Linked DNA regions of Homo sapiens: region 1 is linked to region 2. The links are contacts of gene promoters, found by promoter capture Hi-C in blood cells and fetal thymus (Javierre and others, 2016). All regions are on one chromosome and are shown on one strand. The core of a region is centred on a gene start or on the middle of the fragment in contact, and the rest is flanking DNA. Distances in the headings are between cores, read along the strand shown. Region 1 has its middle 4.2 kb from the start of GPATCH2L. Region 2 holds the start of CIPC (CLOCK interacting pacemaker).

Region 1 (6,280 bases), core at 2,691-5,190, 950 kb before region 2:
TATTATAGGTGCTATAGCCATGAATATCAAAACGGTTATTGAGAGGATTAAATGAAATACTGAATCTAGTCTTCAGCATGATTCTTGGACTACAGTAAGCTTTTAGTAAATGCTACTTCAACAAAATCCCTAAATTCAACAGAGTTGAGGAGGGTAAGTGAGAGAGCATGGGAGGCGTGGCAAGGGAGGAGTTGGCGAACCTCTGTCTACTGCCACCTGCTCCTTGGCTGCTGCCCTGGGTCCCAGCACAACCCCTCACTGTCCCCCTCTTGGTGTGCTTTACAGGAGATGTGTTTCTGTTATCACTGCTGCCAAGGAGTGCTCAGCATCTCCCCACTCCTGCATTCCTGCCTCCAGGGAAGGTTCCTATAATCCCAAGGAGAAGGCACCAGGAGTACCAGGGGTAGGGGAGGCGGACAAGTTGCCAGGTGTCACTCACTTTCCAAGTATATGCTAACACTTCCTGTCCTCCTTGGTGGACACTGTTTCTGTTAGTAACATCTCTCCAGTGGCTGCTGGAAAAACTTTCTGGAAAGATTTCCAGATGTCTTGGATCTGTTCAGAGAAGATCTGAGCCAGGAAAAGGGGAAAATGGAAATAAATTATGGAGAGAGGATGAGGAATCCATTCATTCATCAAATGTTTATTGAGCACCTACTATGTGACAGGCACTGTTGTAGGTTCCAGGGGGATACAAAGGTGAAAGGACAGATACCGTCCTTATTCTTATGAAACTTACATCCTGGTGGGAGGCAACAGAGTACAAACAAATAAGTACCAAAGAAATAGGATGAAGTTGGACTATAATAAGTGCCATAAGGGAAATATACCAGGTGCTATGGTTTAAATGTATCTTCCAAAATTCAGGTGTTAGAACTTAATGGCCAATGTGATTTTATTAAGAAGTGGAGTATTTAAGAGGTAATTGGTCATGCGGGCTTCTCCCCTCATGAATGGAATTAAGGCTCATATAAAAGAGGTTTTACAGAGTGTTGGCTCACTTGCCCTTCTGCCTTTCATCATGTGAGGACACAGCATTCCTCCCTTCCAAAGGATGCAGAAACGGGGCACCATCTTTGAAGCAAAGAGTGAACCTCATCAGACCACCAAACCTGCCAGCACCTTGATCTTGGATTTCCCAGACTCCAGAAGCTATGAGAAAATACATTTTTGCTCTTTATAAATCACCCAGTCTATGGTATTTTGTTATAGCTGCACAGAATGGACGATGAGATAGAAAGTACTTTAGATCCTATTAGAAAAGTCCTCTCTGTGGAGGTGATATTTTAGCCAAGGCCTCAATGATGCTCTCAGGTGCAGGACAGCATGTCAAGGCCCTGGGGAAGGTGGAAAAAGAGCATGGTGGGTTGGTACTGTGGGCACAGGGAAGAGAGTCAAGACCAGAGGCAGGCAGGGCCCACATCATACCTGACTGTGCAGGCCATAGTGAGGACTTTAGGTTTATTATAAGTGCAGGGAATGTAATAAATCAGCAGTGGAAGATTTTTTATTTATTATTAATTATTTGTTTAAAAAATATATTTGGCTGGGCACAGTGGCTCATGCCTGTAATCCTAGCACTTTGGGAGCCGAGGTGGGCAAATCTCTTAAGCCCAGGAGTTTGAGATCAGCCTGGGCAACACGGTGAAATCCTGTCTCTACAAAAAGTACAAAAACAGCCAAGCGCGGTGGCTCACGCCTGTAATCCCACCACTGTGGGAGGCCAAGGTAGGCAGATCACTTGAGGTCAGGAGTTCTAGATCAGCCTGACCAACATGCAAAACCCTGTCTCTACTGAAAAATACAAAAAGTAGCTGGGTGTGGTGGTGTGTGCCTGTAATCCCAGCTACTAGGGAGGCTGAGGCACAAGAATCGCTTTAACCCAGGAGGCGGAGGTTGCAGTGAGCTGAGATCACACCACTGCACTCCAGCCTGGGTGACAGAATGAGACTGTCTCGAAACAAAAAAAAACAAACAAAAAGCAAACCCCAAACACGTAAACAAACAAAAAGTACAAAAATTAGCCCGGCCTGGTGGCGCGTACCTGTAGTCCCAGCTACTCAGGAGGCTGTGGTGGGAGGATGACCTCAGCCCAAGGGAAGTCGAGGCTGCAGTGAGCCATGATCGTGCCACTGCATTCCAGCCTGGGTGACAGAGTGAGATTCTATCTCAAAAAATATATATACATTTTTGTGGGGAGGAAAGAGGTGAGAGAAGCCTATTATTTCCTTCCATGTGCAGATTCTTTTTCAGCTGGGAATTTCCTCATTCGACTACGTTTGATGGTCAAAAAAGGGAAACTTCTGTTGACTACTCCCCTCTTTTCAGTAACTACTAATACTTTTGGAGCAGTTAATTTGTGTTGGGCTGTGTACTAAATGCTTTACATTCATTATTTCATTTCATCTCCATCCAAGAGATAGATATGTACAAATATTGTCTCCATATTGCAGATAGGGAAGCAAAGGCTCAAAGAAGTGAAGCTTCTAGCTCTGGACACAGTCAGGCAGTTAGGGCTTCACCCTTCACCTCCTTCCCCCTCCTCCACTGCTGCCTGCTTGCAGCCTGCTCAGGCCTTATTACCATCAGTGACCTCCTCAGTTGCCAAGTGTGGTGGCATTTCCTCAGAACTGCTCATCTTCAAACTTCCTTTTCTTCTTCATTTTCTTAAAACTCTCTCTCCTCTGGCTTTTAGACACAGGTTCTCTTCAGATGCTTTCAGTCTTTTTGGAGCTGTCCTCTTCTTCCACAACAGGCCACTTCTCTCACCACCCTCTTTCATTATGTGATTCTGCCCATGGCTTCCACCATCCCATGAAGGCGGAAGTTTCATTACAATTTTCTCATGGGACTGAGACAAGCACTTCTAATGTCCCTGACCCAGCATTTAGTAAACAAGTATTCATTTAATTTTTAACCAACAATAACTATGGAGCACCTACCATGTGTAAGGCACTGTGCTAGGCACTGATGAGAATACAATGAATAGGACAGGGTCTTCAGGGCAATGCAGTAGGCTTTGGTTTGGTTCACATAGTTATATACATATAAGCACAGGGCCAGGCATATTGTAGACGCTTAGTAAATATTTGTTGAATGAGTGACTTAGTTGGGGAGGCAAACTTGCACATAATTGGCTCTAGTTCAGGTTGAAGGAAGAGAGTGTGGTCATAAAGCTACCGGCAAGTGCTCAGAATGAGAGCCAAAGGAGTGGGCAAGCAAGGGTAAGTGTCTTTCTTGAGGTGACATTGGAATTGAGCCTTTAAATCACCCCAGATCCCAAGGGTGTTCTAGAACTAGCAAGTGATATGGTGTGCTCAAGCATGATGCAGGAGGTAGTGGAAGATGGATGAAATGACACCACTAAAATTGTGTTTTAGGAAACTCACTCTGGTGCCTGGGTAGAGGATGGCATTTTGGGGGGAGAGACTGCAAGTGGGAAGACCAGTAAGGCAGCTGCTGCATCACCCAGAAGAGTGGTTACCTGCCCAGATGAGGCCAATGGCAGAGCAAAAACCAATGAGGGAGGACAAATGCAAGACTACTGCAGGAGTGCAATCTACGGGGCTTAGCACTTTGCTAGATAAAGGGGTAAAAGAAAGAAACAAGAACTAAAAATGGGTTTGAAGCTTCTCACCTGGGTAACTGCATGATGGTGGCGATATTTTCCAAAGAGTGAACAGTGGAGAAGGGGCAGGTTTGATAGAAACTATGGAAGAGGCTGGACAAGGTGGCTCACACCTGTAATCCCAGCACTCTAGGAGGCTGGGGCAGGAGGATCACTTGATGGTAGGAGTTTGAGACCAGCCTGGGCAACATAGTGGAGACCCTATCTCTCTACTAAAAATTTAAAAATTAGCTGGGCATGGTGGCATGTGTCTGTAGTCCCAGCTATTTAGGGTGCTGAGGTGGGAATATTACTTGAGCACAGGAGGTCAAGGCTGCAGTGAGGTAATGATCATGCCACTGCAGTGTTCTGTCCGTAGGTGTACCATCATTTAGTTAACTAATCCCTGTTGTAGAATTTCTGACTTTTTCTACTTTCCTCAATCCTCCCTCAGAAATGCTGCAGAGAAGAATTTAACCTGTATCTAACATTTTTGAGCCCATTTCCAATTTTTTTTTTTTTTGAGACATGGTCTCACTCTGTCTTTCATTTCACAGAGACCCTGTCTGGGAAAAAAAAAAAAAAAAAAAAGGAAAGGAGAGAGGGAAGAAAGGAAGGAAGGAAGAAAGAAACTGTGGAAGAAACTAAGCTTTATTTTTGACATTTTATTATATTTACTTATTTATTTTTGAGACACGGTTTCACTCCTGTCACCAGGCTGGAGTGCAGCAGTGTGCTCTCAGCTCACTACAACCTCTGCCTCCTGGAATGAAGTGATCCTCTTGCCTCAGCCTTTCCAGTAGCTAGGATTACAGGCGCCCACCACCACACTTGCCTAATTTTTTGTATTTTTAGTAGGGACGGGGTTTCACCATGTTGGCCAGGCTAGTCTCAAACTCCTGACCTGAAGTGATCCACCCGCCTCAGCCTCCCAAAGTGCTGGGATTACAGGCGTGAGCCACTACGCCTGGCCTATTTTTGACATTTTAAATTGGAAATGCTGGTGAGGTGAACAAGTGGAGCTATCTAGTAGAAAAATGAAAATATAAGTTGGATTTCAAGAAATTTGGGAGCTTTCAGTGCTGATGCAGGCAATCAACACCGTGGGAACAGATGTGATTTGTGGGAGAGAATTTTCACTTATGCAGAAAAGAGGCCTAAGGCTGTGGACACCTGTTGAACATTTCCATATTTCTGTCCTGTGGGAGTCACAGATTCAGCATGTCCAAAATGGAATTAATCATCTTTCCACTAAACCCGTTTATCTTCTTGACTTCTCTAGCTGTGCAGATGGCACTGACCATTGTCTTAGTTGCCCTAGCTCAAAACCTCAGCTATCTTTGTCTCCTACCTTGACTTTTTTTCACCTATAGAACATTCTGAAAATCCACAAAAAACAATAGATAGGAGATATAATCATTGATAATGAAACCATTTCGGATATTGTATGGTGGCTTCTTCTGGTCATATTCCTTTGCGAGTATAGATTTAATTTCCTTTGTATGGGAATCATACTCTACATTTTTAGAGTAATCTTTTTATTGAAGTATAACAGTCATGCAGAAATGTACACAATCATAAGTCGATGGCTTTTCATGTCATTAAATATTCTTTTGCAACATTAATTTTTAAAAGTTGCAAGATATTCCACCCATAGATGTACCATAATTTAGTTAACTAACCCCTGTTGTAGAACTTCTGGCTTTTTCTAGTTTCCTCATCTCTCCCTCAGAAATGCTGCAGAGATGATTTACCTATATTTAACATTTTTGCGCCCATTTCCAATTTTTCCTTAGAATACAATTCTTTGGGGCAAAATTTCAGGGTCCAAGGTATGTGCATATTTTTAAATAAACTTTTTTATTTTAGGATAATTTTGGGTTTAGATAAAAATTATGAAGATTGTTACAGTTTCTGTGTAATTCACACTTTCTCCTATTATTCACTTTTTTTTTTTTTTTTTGTGACGGCTGAGTCTCACTCTGTCGCCCAGGCTGGAGTGCAGTGGCTCGATCTCTGCTCACTGCAACCTCCGCCTCCTGGGCTCAGGCGATGCTCTTGCCTTAGCCTCCTGAGTAGGGACTGGGACTACAGGCATGTGCCACCACACCTGGCTAATTTTTTGTATTTTTAGTAGAGACGGGGTTTCACCATGTTGGCCAGGCTGATCTCGAAATCCTGACCTCAGGTGATCCGCCCACCTCAACCTCCCAAAGTGCTGGAATTACAGGTGTGAGCCACCACACCAGGCTATTCACTCTTACAGAAGTATAACACATCTCACAATTGCAACCAATATTGATACGTTATTATTATTATTATTATTTTGAGACGGAGTTTCACTCTTGTAGACCAGGCTGGAGTGCAATGGTGCGATCTTGGCTCACTGCAACCTCCGCCTCCCAGGTGCAAGTGATTCTCCTGCCTCAGCCTCCCGAGTAGCTGGGATTACAGGCACGTGCCACCATGCCCATGTAATTTTTGTATTTTTAGCAGAGACAGGTTTTCACCCTGTTAGCCAGGATGGTCTCAATCCCCCAACCTCAGGTGATCCGCCTGCCTCGGCCTCCCAAAGTGCTGGGATTACAGGCGTGAGCCACCTCACCCGGCCCGATACATTATGATTAACTAAAGTTGATACTTTATCCAGATTTCCTTAGTTTTTACCTAATG
Region 2 (6,472 bases), core at 3,760-6,259:
TACCCATTTCCACTTTAACATGGAGGCTGTCAAGCAAAGTGGCAAGGACTCTGGAATTCAAATCCTGGCTCTACCACTTACCACGGGTGACCTTGGCAAGTGACGTGGGCCTCCATATCTGAGCCTCCTGCTCTGTAAAAAGAAAATAATGATACTACACCCATCTCATAGACAGTGGGAGGATTAAATGAATAAATGTAGGCAAATCACTTAGGACAGCATCTGGCAAATAATAAGCACTACGTGTTGTTATGGAAGAATTTGTCTTGGGTTCTAGAGTATCTTGGTGTCAAGCAATTCCTTAAAGGAATTTCAAGTATCAGCAAGAAGACAGAGGGCTATGTGGGAAGGGTTTACACTGTCTCTAAAATCAAAACCTTCACCTGTATATGAACAGCCTGACCATAACCTGAATATTACCCTTTTAGTGTACCTGCTCTGCCAAATACTTCCCTAAAATATGAGCCAAGAACCAGTCTGGCTGGTGAGGGCCTTGTTACCTGACTGCTAAGGGAAAAAAGGTCATACATCCCACTATCACTGGCCTCTGCCTCTGCCATCTGGCACCTGTAGATCCCCCTGCCCACACAGGCTGGAGCCCCTCTCTTCTCTCACTGACCCATGAGACACACTTACCACTCCATCAAATCCTATTTAAAGACTTATGAAGTGATCAGCACCAATAATGCTAGATGCTAGATTCAAACTACAGGATAACTATTTTACAGACGGCCAAACTGAGGTTCAGGAAAATGAAATCAATGGTTCCCAAACACCAGTCCAAGAACTGTTGCCAGTCCTTGTGGTGATGTTTTCACCAGTCTTCAGCCAAACTGGAAAAATAAGACTAAAAGCTTTAAGTTTTTCATACACCCGAAATTATTCTATTTTTAAATTGTGAGGTTATGTCCTATCTTCCCTTCTGTGTATACGGAAAAGATATCAAAATGACCCTTCTTTTGTAAAATGATATTGATAGGAGCTGGAATTTGAAACTAGATCACTGACTTTCACCGTCTCCTATTACACTATTTTAATTACTTCTAAATTTTTTTTTTTTTTTTTTTTGAGACGGAGTCTCGCTCTGTCACCCAGGCTGGAGTGCAGTGGCACAATTTCAGCTCACTGCAGCCTCCGCCTCCTGGATTCAAGCAATTCTCCTGCCTCAGCCCCCTGAGTGGCTGGGATTAAAGGCGCATGCCACCATGCCCAGCTAATTTTTGTATTTTCAGTAGAGACGGGGTTTCACCACGTTGGCCAGGCTGGTCTTGAACTCCTGACCTAGTGATCTGCCCGCCTTGGCCTCCCAAAGTGCTGGGATTACAGGTGTGAGCCACTGCGCCTGGCCCACTTTTAAATATTTTTAAATGACTTTAATTTTAAATTCAACAATTATTAAACAATCGTTTATAAATATTTTAAATTGTATAACATAATACACTTAAAATATCTTCAAATAAAACTCGGCCCATGGCTGACTCTTCATGGTATCCTAGGCAGGGTTAAAAACTCAAATCCTCACACGGATAGGCAGGTTACAATTTCAAGAAGTAGATGGGAAAAAAAAAGAAACATTCGCAAGTCCCTAAATGTAGGATTTAAGGGCGCATGTCTCCCCCTGCTGGTTGTGGTGGTAGGAAACCGAACCTAGACCACAATGGTACTGGGGAGAACTTGAATTGGAAAGGACCCTACAGCAAGAAGAATAGGTGCTTCAGAACCCACTATCCATCACAGGGTCCTTACCCCATCCATCATAGGGTCCTTACTCCAACCAAGAGTAAAGAGAGTAAAGTGAGTGAAGGTTAAAGAATTCGTGGCACCAGTAAACTATCAATAGATGCTGATTTACAAATCTTGGTAAATTAATAGGAAAGGAAGAAAAACGTTTACGGTGGTTTAGCTACATAAAAATATTCACTATCAATCTTCATGAATTGCTTATTCTGTATATCTAATTATATAGAATCATAGCATAAAATAATCATAAAAATTATGCCTATCATTAGTCTTGATTCATTTGGTTCCATTACAATACTTGTCTGAAGCTTAAGTTATTGGTACAGCATGGCTGTCTGCTCAAGATGTAGGTAAAGTCAAGGAAGTTTGGTTTATTTGCCCCTTCGGAGGACTAAGAGGGCCTCATGCTTTCGCATATTTCACTGATTCTTTTTTGCTTGGTATGCATTATCCCCTCACCTGCTTCCATTATTGCAAACCCAACTTTCAAGCTGTCTTTAAAGCTTTACCTGCTGGTCTCTTTCTACTCCAACAACCGAAAAAGAAAGTTTTTTTTTTCTCCCTTAATGTTATTGTTTTGTTCAGAATCTTTTGGTAGTTATCCCATTCTCTTTCATATTGCTTATTACATCATGTCTTATTTCCCATATCAGATTGTAAGTTATTTGAAGGCAGACTTTTATTCTTTTTTTTTTTGAATTTTATTTTTGTTTTGTTTTTTATTTAAGTTCAGGGATACGTGTGCAGATTCGTTACATAGGTAAACTTGTGTCATGGCGGTTTGTTGTACAGATGATTTCGTTACCCAGGTATTAAGCCTAGTATCCATGCTGCTGTTTTTTAAATTTTTTATTTCCATAGGTTTTTGGGGAACAGGTGGCATTTTGGTTATATGAGTAAGTTCTTAAGCGGTGATTTGTGAGATTTTGGTGAACCCATCACCTGAGCAGTATACACTGCACCCAATTTGTAGTCTTTTATCCCTCACCCCCTTCCCACCCTTTCCCCTTGAGTCCCCAAAGTCCACTGTATCATCCTTATGCCTTTACATCCTCATAGCTTAACTCCCACTTATGAGTGAGAACATACGATGTTTGGGTTTCTATTCCTTAGTTACTTCACTTAGAATATAAGTCTCCAATCTCATCCAGGTTGCTGCAAATGCCATTAATTCATTCCTCTCATAGTTTATTTATTTGCCCCTTCGGAAAACTAAGATAGGACCACACCTCATGCTTTTGCTTATTTCATTGATTCTTTTTTTGCTTTGTGTGCGTCGTACTCTCACCCACTTCCATTACTGCAAATCCAACTTTTAGCTATCCTTAAAGATTTACCTACTGATCTCTTCCTACTCCAACAACCAAAAAAAAACAAAGTTTTTTTTTCTCCCTTTATTTTATTAATTAGGTTTTGTTCACAATCTTCTGGTACTTATCCCATTCTCTTTCATATTATTTATTACAGCGCGTCTTATTTCCCATATCAGATTTTAAGTTATCTGAAGGCAGATTGTTTTATTCCACTTCAAAAGAAGGCAATATATTAATAGCTTCATGGATAAAAGCCACGGTTTTCGTTTGTTTGTTTTGGTGAGACGGAGATTTGTTGCCCAGGCTGGAGTGCAATGGCACGATCTCGGCTCACCGCATCCTCCGCCTCCCAGGTTCAAGCGATTATCCTGCCTCAGCCTCCCGAGGATTACAGGCATGTGCCACCACGCCCAGCTAATTTTGTATTTTTAGTAGAGACGGGGTTTCACCGTGTTGCCCAGGCTGATCTTGAACTCCTGACCTCAGGTGATCCGCCCGCCTCGGCCTCCCAAAGTGCTGGGATTACAGGCGTCAGCCACTGTGCCTGGCCAAAGCCATGGGTTTTTAGTTGAGTCCTAATGGGCAAAAACGCCACACAACTGGAAAAAAATACCACCTGCGTCATAAACTTGTAAGGAATCATAAAAGGATGCATATAAAGCGGCCCGGCTCCTAATTACTTGGTAATTGTTAACTATTGCTTTCACTCTGTCCCCAAAACAAAAGCCTTACATGGTGTAGGCATATTACTTGTTGGTAAAGCTGACTACTAACAAGTACACCCATACCCAGTAATACATTAGAATTACCTGTGTCTAGAGGACTAACGTGATTAACCACGACCTAGCAGCACTTACAAAGGCCTGGATGACCAGTATAAAACAATTCCCCACTATCTAAATCAGCACTGTCCAATATAACTTTCTGCGATGCTGGGAATGGGCTATATATAATCTGCACTGTCCAATAAAGAGGTCACTGAGCTCCTGAAATGTGGCTAGTACAACTGAGAAACTTATCCAGTCGTTAGTGACCATCTTACTGGACAGCTCAGCTCTTGAATCTGCCTCGACCCGTCAACTCTTTAAACTCGCCCATGTCCTCTTTTTCACTAGCGAAATAATTCTTTTTCTAAGTAACCTTCACTGATTCAAGGCATCAGAACGTCAACTGATCCCAAGCCCTTTTTTTCTTTAGCTGTTACACACGTGTGTTCACCGTGAACCTTCACCAAGAAACAGCATCCATATAAAACCCATAGCACATGACAAAGTCAGTCAAACATCAAAGGTCATGAAATCATCTACTTAAAATAACTCATCGCGCCTCGACCTCGTGAAGCACGGTCTCGAGGGTGGACGGGAACAAAAAACAAACAGGGCGACAGGCGTAGAGAAAATGCGAGGAGCACGCGGGGAGGTCTGGCACCCCTGTCACGGCGACTCCAGGCTGAGGCCGCCCGCACGCCCGCTCTCCCACGCCGGGCACTGTCGCTCCCGGCACGCGCACAGGCCGGACACGACTCGCCCCGGCCCCCACCCCCAACGGCGGCACGGCGGCACGGCGGCACGCACCAAGACAGTGCGAGAGTCGCTCCTCTCTCTGTATCGACTCCAAGCCGGCCCCACCCCCGGCTCCTCTGAACCCCGCCTGGAAACCTTGCCCAAGCCGCTCATTGCTCAAGGCCCCCGTACAAAATGGCGGCGAGGCCTGAGGAACCAACCATAGAGACGCCCGCCGGCCGCGGACAGAGCGTAGGCCTCTGAGCGCTGGCCCCGCCCCGCGCCGGCCTGGTCTTCCGGCGGGGGCGGGGAAAGGGCGCATTTCCAAGGGCCCTTCTAGGAGAACAGCGTGCGGTCTCCATGGTGCCGGGTCATCCGAGTCGGGTCACGTGGCTGGCGAAAGCCGTCGCGGAGGCGTGGGGAGGAGAAATGGGCGGGAGGCTGTGGGGATAGCGAGACACCCAGCGACGACGAGGTTGTCATGGTGCCGCGGGGCCGTGCTCGCGCATGCGCCACCTGACCCACAGGCCGGTCGTGGAGCTGCGACCCCGGCCCTAGGTGAGAAAGGGAGGGCTCGGTCCGGGAGGAGGGGAGCAGGGATGACGGCGGGAGAGGGATTGGGCGAGGAGCGTGGGGAAAGGAGGTGGAAGTAGGGGAGAGAGGAAGAGGAGCGAGTAGGCAAGAGGGGCAAACCGGGACTTTCGGAGGACGGAGAGCCAAATGGTGGGAGCAGGGCTTTGGTTTGCTGTGAGGGGCGTGGGAGAGGGAATCGCGGGTGAGGAGGGGGCTGCGTGTGGGGAGGAGGCTTGTGTGAGGGGCAGGTGGGCCCTGGTCTAGCCCTGGGCGCAACCGCCAGCCGGCTGGGCGGGGAGAGAGCTTGGAGTCCAGCCCGGCTGGGAGCTGAGGGCCAAGCAATGGGCAGGTGAGTGGGCGCCAGAACTAGTAACTGGGCGAGGGTCCTGGGCTTCCGGTTTGAGGTCGGGGGTGGTACCCTGTTCTGGCTCCAGGGCACAGGTGTGCTGCCTTTTCCAGAGACCTGCCGTCACCCTCGTTGCTGGTTGTTTCCCCTGAGTGGCCAGCTTGCCAGGCTTGGTGTCGGGGGTAGTGTTTCTGGGGAGAAGGTGGGCAGTGCCAAGTAAGGAGTTAAGTGGTTAGTGGGTGGGTTCGGGGGAGCTCTGATCCCGGCCCAGGTCACAGGCTGGAGCTAGGCTCCCTGTTATTGCTCAAGTCCTGGCAGTATGCATTGCCTGGGCGTTTGCCCTGGAAGGCTGGTGGTATGCCAGTCACAGCACAGTACTAGGGTCTGCCCAGTTTTGCCCTGCTGAGCTGGCAGGCTGGTGGATGCCTGGAGGGTGCACATGCTGCCTGGCACAGATGCAACGTGGGCTGGTGCGAATGGGTAGGTGGGCACTGTTACTGTGAACTAATTGCAGCAGGGGATCGGAGAAAGTTCTCTAAGCTCATCTCCCCTTTGAAAGGTGAAAATAGAGCCAAACTGGTCTAAAACATAGGAAATTGTATGGAATTGGGGTTCAGGATCTTTGACACGAATTTTCAGCCAAGTTGGAGAAATGGAATGAATGTGGAAGGGAAGATGAATATTAGACATTTAGGTAGACAGGGTTTTTCCACTGTTAAGATACCCAGACATTCTCCCAGAATGGTATCCCTGAATATGCAGGCCAAAAGAAAATGACTTCGGAGAAAAGCTAGTAATGTATTTATAATTCTAACGGGGATTACTCAAGGTTTTCTTTCTGTGACCTTATCACTTTATTGTATTTAAGCCTCTGGTTGGGCTTTTACCTCACACTTCTGTCCAGGCACACATGTTATACACGTGACACATTTTAAAGGGAACTTGAGCTTCCAGGAATGTTGCCAAGTGTCTATAAAAGGAGAGATCTGAAAGCAGCA

Evidence for each region. Contacts are between HindIII fragments. The CHiCAGO score rates a contact against its expected background, and 5 or more counts as called.
Region 1: a fragment that was not itself captured here is called in contact with the fragment with the promoter of CIPC in region 2 in 1 of 17 cell types (naive CD8 T cells); the score reaches 5.7 in naive CD8 T cells.

What each region holds. Positions count from the first base shown.
Region 1 is chr14:76,144,618-76,150,897 of GRCh38, forward strand. No RefSeq gene overlaps it. Among named protein-coding and RNA genes, the nearest start is that of GPATCH2L, 4.2 kb to the right of the region's middle. The HindIII fragment of the contact is 627 bases long and covers 3,628-4,254 here.
Region 2 is chr14:77,093,249-77,099,720 of GRCh38, forward strand. It overlaps CIPC (CLOCK interacting pacemaker), which reads left to right and starts at 5,010. Exons shown (of 4, transcript NM_033426.3): 1 at 5,010-5,113. LOC124903350 (a long non-coding RNA gene) reads right to left here and starts at 4,770. Exons shown (of 2, transcript XR_007064275.1): 1 at 4,628-4,770; 2 at 3,217-3,652. RefSeq lists enhancers at 4,241-4,290, 4,652-5,481, 5,621-5,780 and a silencer at 4,471-4,620. The HindIII fragment of the contact is 10,027 bases long and covers 2,242-6,472 here.